Regions from separate parts of the Homo sapiens genome. Here region 1 is linked to region 2. The links are contacts of gene promoters, found by promoter capture Hi-C in blood cells and fetal thymus (Javierre and others, 2016). All regions are on one chromosome and are shown on one strand. The core of a region is centred on a gene start or on the middle of the fragment in contact, and the rest is flanking DNA. Distances in the headings are between cores, read along the strand shown.

Evidence for each region. The method cuts DNA at HindIII sites, captures the fragments that hold promoters and counts their contacts. A CHiCAGO score of 5 or more calls a contact.
Region 1: the fragment with the promoter of COMMD9 here is called in contact with the fragment with the promoter of EIF3M in region 2 in 1 of 17 cell types (non-activated CD4 T cells); the score reaches 6.1 in non-activated CD4 T cells.

Annotation. Positions count from the first base shown.
Region 1 is chr11:36,287,888-36,290,867 of GRCh38, reverse strand. It overlaps COMMD9 (COMM domain containing 9), which reads left to right and starts at 1,444. Exons shown (of 6, transcript NM_014186.4): 1 at 1,444-1,506. The coding sequence starts at 1,456. RefSeq lists enhancers at 1,294-1,543, 1,380-2,082. The HindIII fragment of the contact is 8,947 bases long and covers 1,127-2,980 here.
Region 2 is chr11:32,582,548-32,585,785 of GRCh38, reverse strand. It overlaps EIF3M (eukaryotic translation initiation factor 3 subunit M), which reads right to left and starts at 1,955. Exons shown (of 11, transcript NM_006360.6): 1 at 1,857-1,955. The coding sequence starts at 1,898. RefSeq lists enhancers at 1,800-1,949, 1,592-2,244 and a silencer at 2,110-2,169. The HindIII fragment of the contact is 5,112 bases long and covers 1-2,240 here.

The sequences.
Region 1 (2,980 bases), core at 195-2,694, 3.7 Mb before region 2:
ATTGAGGGCCATCTTGAAGGCTGGTGACCACACTCCTCATTACTCTAAAGTAAGACAAGAAGGCACAATCCTGCAAATACCAAGGCAATATCCTCAAATAAGTCACAAAATTTCATCTTAGTCTAATCACTTTTTTGGGTGGTTGTTTATTTAACAAATATTCAATTAACCCAAGACAATGGGCCCAGCCCTATAGATACAGGCAGGAGTTAAACCTAGAACCTACATTGAGTTATAACAGAAACCAGGAATCAGGCCATGAGGGTTCATGGAAAAGAGAGGCCAAGAAAGAGAGCTAGAATCAGGACCCTGTGACAAAATGGTTCTAAAATCTTCTAATCCAGGAATGGGTTCCTCCTTAGACAATTTGATTTTTGGTTTCCTGGGCCTTGACAACATCCCCACAGAAAATGGAGTCGGGGAAGGGGAAGGGGGAGGAGAGGAGACAAAGGAACAAATGTCCTTAGCAGCTTACCAATTTCTGGAATTTCACAAATGGGCATTCTTTCTTAAGCTCGAATATATCAGAACCCATTTTTTGAGCTGGAATTTGCTTAAAAAAAAGTGGAGGGTAGGAAAAGAAAAGAGCCACCCAAATACTAAAGGTAGATAAAGGAAATGTCTGTTTTGATGTACGGTCTCTGAGAACAGGGCAAATCAGAGTCCAGTACTGCCAGTGCAAAATCACTCTTTACAATTATATTCATTATAATTACCTTTTTGAATAAATGAACTAAATCATTTCCATTAACCTCCTCCCCCATCTCACCCCCGTATAACAAGAACCTAGCTAGGTAGTAGCTTTCATTCCATTCCTCTCTTGTCCCCTCTCCCAAACACTTCCTCACCTGCTCTTGTAATCAGATCTTCTCTATGACTATGGGAAAGTTACTAAAAACCCTAAATGATTATTTCCCAATCTGGATAATACTAATAATACCAGCTCCAACCTACTACATAGGCTGAAAAACTATATACGCAGAAGTAATTTTACATTCAAGACAGGATGTGTGCATGTGTGTGTGTCAATTCCAAGAAGCCCGATATGCACAGCCTCATTTTCATTCCAAACACTGGTACGCCGATCACTCCTGAACAACTACGTTTCCAAGGCGCCTGCCAAGCTTGCAGGTGCATTCCCCAAGTGCGCCAGCCCACCCACATGGGTCAAGGGAAAACCTGTTTCCCTGACTTGGTAAGTAGACAAGTCAAGCCAATTTCCTCCCCGAGTAAACCATCCTCCGCCCTGGTCCCCCTAGTCCTTTGGTTCTAGAGTCTCGGGGTTTAGTCATCCAGCCGCCGCGTCCGTCTTGATCCGCGCTCACTGCCGCAGCACCACAACCGAAACGCCTTCCCCCACTCTGAAGGACTACAGCCCCCGGCAGGCCCCGCGACAACAGCGACAGCCACGTGACCTCGCTTCCCTGGGTGCCACGGTCATGTGACTTCGGCAAGATGGCTGCCCTGACAGCGGAGCATTTTGCAGCACTCCAGAGCCTGCTCAAGGTAAGTCGAAGGGGTGGGGACAGCGTGAGGTGGCCCTTTGTCTCCGAGACTTTAGACGGAGCAGGAATTGGGAACAAATTGACCCTGGTTTGGAGCCACAACTCTGCTGCTTGTTCTCTGTGTGATCCCAGGCAAATCGTTGCGTCTTTCTGAGCTTTTAAAAAGTAAGAACAAAATATCGTTTTGACAGGAACGTAAGATAAAAAAAAATAAAATAATGGGCATGAAGGCGCAGTACAACCTCCTGCTATTAGTCTTTGGGATTGGTTTTCGGTATTGGTGCATTGAAGTGGTAATTGCTAGACCCACGTTGTCAGTTCCCCATTTCATCCCGTAGCCCCTCCTGCATTGCACAATTAAGAAATTATCTCCTACTGCGTCTGCCCAGCCCTCCGAATGACCTGTGCGTTCAATGTTCCCTTGAGGTCCAGATTTTCCCTACTCTCTTTGACCTGCGAAAGGGGCAGGACATACTCCTGATAATCATTTGAAAAGTTGTGAGGTTGAAAGGGACCTACTTCATAGGGCTTTGTAAAGCTCAAATGAAGTATTATTATTATTTGAGACGGAGTCTAGCTCTGTTGTCCAGGCTGGAGAGCAGTGGCGCAATCTCGGCTCACTGCAACCTCCGCCCCCCGAGTTCAAGCAATTCTATGCCTCAGCCTTCCGAGTAGCTGGGATTACAGGCGCCCGCCACCAAGCCTGGCAAATTTATGTATTTTTAGTAGAGACGGGGTTTCAACATCTTGGCCAGGCTGGTCTTGAACTCCTGACCGCGTGATCCACTCGCCTCCGCCTTCCAAAGTGTTGGGATTACAGGCGTGAGCCACCGCGCCTGGCCGGAATTATTTAACTTATGATTTGCCCTGTAGGAGAAAGGGCAGCTTTATTTTCCTTCGTAGAACTTGTCGCTAGCTATTTGCCCGTTGTCCGTCTGTCTCATAAGAATGTAAGATCCATCAGGGACCTTTCCTTTCTTCCTCTCTCTTTTTTTTTTTTTTTAAACACCAGGTGAAGAGGGTTGAGTTACTCTCCTCAATTTATGGCACATCATCATCATCGGTCCATGTAATAGTCTCTGTTTTGTTTTACTTATTTATTTTTTAATTGCCTTCTCAGTGTTCATTAGCATTCTCCACTCCTAAGGGGATCTACTCTTTTGTTCACAAGTGTTAATGCCCAATAAGTAGAACAATAATACCTGGCACACAGCACGTGCTCAGTAAATAGCTGTTAAATGAATTAATAAATGAAGTAACAGAGCTGGGACTGGCAATCTAGGGCTCTCAGCTCCCAACCCAGTGCCTTTTCACCTTCATTTTGGCTGCTCTGTACCTACCCCCGCCCCTATACCTGTTGGTCTTATGCACTCTTTTCTTTTAAAAACTTTAAAAGATTAGTGTGTAGTATACATACAGAAAAGTGCATAAACCATACATTTACAGTTAAATGATTTATTACACACCAATGTAAC
Region 2 (3,238 bases), core at 706-3,205:
TTAAACCTGCAGATCTGACGGTACTATCCTTTCAGGTAACAAGAACACAGTAACTTCATAGAAGAGTTGGTATTATAAGCAAAATTAAAAAAAGAAAACAAACTGTCACCATGTCAGAGAAAACAAAAATACCTCCAGAAATCATGCTTCATGCTTCTCTATGGAGGAAACAGATACACAGCAAACTTTTTCTAAGAACTATTGAACCACGTTTGCTGTTTTTCTGTCATCCTCACTGCCACAAGTGGTTGTGGAAGCAGCATAAGCAAAGGAAAACAAAAAAAGATAAAGAATTCCATTTAACTCTAATCAAGCTGAGAATTTCACCAAAGTTAAACTAATCCTGAGCAATTTCATATTTCCCTGAAAGGACTGTCTACAGCGATACTGATGTTACAAGAACAGAAGCAGAGCCTGAGAAAAGACACTTTAAGATACGATCAATGACAAGAACTTCCTCCATTCACTTTGTATGTTAAAAAAAAAAAAATTCCAAACACTTTCTCAGTTAACCTAACAGCCAACTGTTGGTAACATGCTTCCATTTCTAATCAGGTATCTTTTTGTCTTTCATATCTTCCTATCTGTGCTTAACCTCCCCATCCTTGACCTTTTCTCCGCCTTTTGCATTTTCCCTTCTTACTTTGCTCTTCAGAGCATCGGAACTGCATTCCTACCATGGGGCGGGGGGAGGAGAGAGGGGGAACTCACTCCCGCAATTCTGTAAGTTGTCTTAGACAAGTAAACTTCCATGCGAAGTTTATGATATCCAATCATTTGGAAGTTACTTCCGTGTTAGTGGAGTAACAGAAATAAAACGACAAAGTTAGGACTTCACAGAAGAATTTTCAGCAATACAAAATTAACTTAAAGAATACGATGTCGTGTTCAACTCCTACCAAATAAGGTTAAACTTTTGTTATGGGGAAAATGAGAACCATCAGCCCTGTATACCAAAGAGCAAACGCCAAACGGGAAATTTAAAAATATCAGGATGGTCCATCAGGTGTATGCCTCACAGAATTTAAGAGCTGAACTGATACCATACTTCCGGGGTACAGAACAACTCTCACCCTCATACAAGTAGGAATAGAAAGCAAGTGTAAAATACGGGTCGTCTTCGCCTGTGATCGCACAGTAATACGGGCGTTTTGATCTTTTTTTTTTTTTTTTTTTTTGAGAGGGACTCTCGCTCTGTCGCCCAGGCTGGAGTGCAGTGGCGCGATCTTGGCTCACTGCAAACTCCGCCTCGCGGGTTCAAGCGATTCTCTTGCCTCAGCCTCGGCAGTAGCTGGGACTACAGGCGCGTGCCACCGCGCCCGGGTAATTTTTTTGTATTTTTAATAGAGACAGGGTTTCACCGTGTTAGCCAGGATGGTCTCGATCTCCTGACCTCGTGATCTGCCCGCCTCGGCGTCCCAAAGTGCTGGGATTAAAGGCGTGAGCCACCGCGCCCGGCCCGGCATTTTGATCTTTAGCACAAAATTACTTTTCCCTACCCTGCTTATGCTAACTACAGATTCACCACCTCCCACTCCGAATGTGGCTGCATTTGACGGACGGAAGCAGACATCATTCCTCATCAGTCTAAAAGTACTATGTCGTCAGAAATGAGTCCCGACGCCGACCAGGGAGCTGGCGGTGAAGCGTCGGGCCCCGCGCTGGGACCGCCGGCCGGCGAGCTGGTGCGAATCGAGGCCAGGAACGCGCGCCCCAGCCACCGGCCTCCCCATTCTCGCGTGTAGAACAGCTGCGGGTGTCAGCCCCGGCCGCCCGGCCCAGGCTCGGCAGCGGTCCCTTGCGCTACTAGGACATCCCCCACCCCACCGTGGCGGCACCCGTAGACCGAAGCACACCTGATCTTCTTCACTGATGTCGATGAAGGCCGGGACGCTCATGGTGCAGGCCCGGGCACAGCGGACACTCCACTCGCAAGACCACGCCGACCGGAAAAGGGAACTGGGCCGCGCGACGCTGCTGGCGCAACTGCTTCCGGGTCACCCTGAGCGGCGACCTGTTGGGGCGGGGCCTTGAGAGCCAATCCTATCGCGCGCTCTCGCCGCGGAATGCAGCAGGGCGTGGCAGACGCGCTCGGGCTGGCCTAGTGGGTGGGACTTACTGGGCCTCCACTCAGCGACGCTTGTCGCGGCCTCCAGTTTTCAGGCCCGTGTAGCTAACTGCATTGATGTTGCCTCCCGCTGGCGCCTCCCTAAGTCCACCTTCCCTTGAAATGTTAAGCTTGTTGGGTCTTACCAAGTATGGATGGGTTTGTGTAGACCTGAAACTCTCCTGTACTGCTGTTGGGAACATAAAATGGTGCAGTCACTTTGCAGAGGAGCGGCAGTTTCTGAAAAAGTTCAGTATCCACCCAGCATATGACCCAGCTATTCTTCTACCCAAACTGTATGTCCGTACAAAGACTTGTACAAGAATGTTCATTGCCGCTTTTAAAAAATAGCAGCTTTGGCTGGGCGCAGTGGATCTCACGCCTGTAATCCCAGCACTGTGGGAGGCCGAGGTGGGCGGATCACTTGGGGTCAGGAACTGGAGACCAGCCTGGGCAACATGGCAAAACCCCGTCTCTACTAAAAATACAAAAATTACCGGGGCATAGTGGTGCGCGCCTGTAATCCCAGCTACTCGGGAGGCTGAGGCAGGAGAATCACTTCAACCTGGGAGAAGGAGGTTGCAGTAAGCCCAGATCATGCCACTGCATTCCAGCCTGGGCGACAGAGCGAGACTCCGTCTCATAAAATAAATACACAATTCAGTAGTTTTTAGTATTTTCAGAGTTGCACAACCATCACTACTATTTAATTTTAGAACATTTTCATCACCTACAAAAGAAACTACCCATCAGCAATCACTCCCCAGACCCCCGGCCCCACCTCTCTCCAGCCCCTGGCAAACACTACATTTTGTCTCTATGAATTTGCCTTTTCTGGACATTTCATGTAAGTGGAATCACAAAATACACGGTGGCCTAAGTCAGACTTACTTCATTTAGCATAATGTTTTCAAGGTTCGTCCATGTATCCCTCCTATATTCCTATTTATTGCTTATAATATTGCATTGTTATGGATATACCACATTGTGTTGATTTGTTCATCAGTTGGTGGACACTTGGGTTGTCTCCATTTTTTGGCTATTATGAATAATGTTTCCATGAACGTTAGTGCACAAGATTTTGTGTGTACGTATATTTCTCTTAGGTATGTACCTATGAGAGGAATCAGT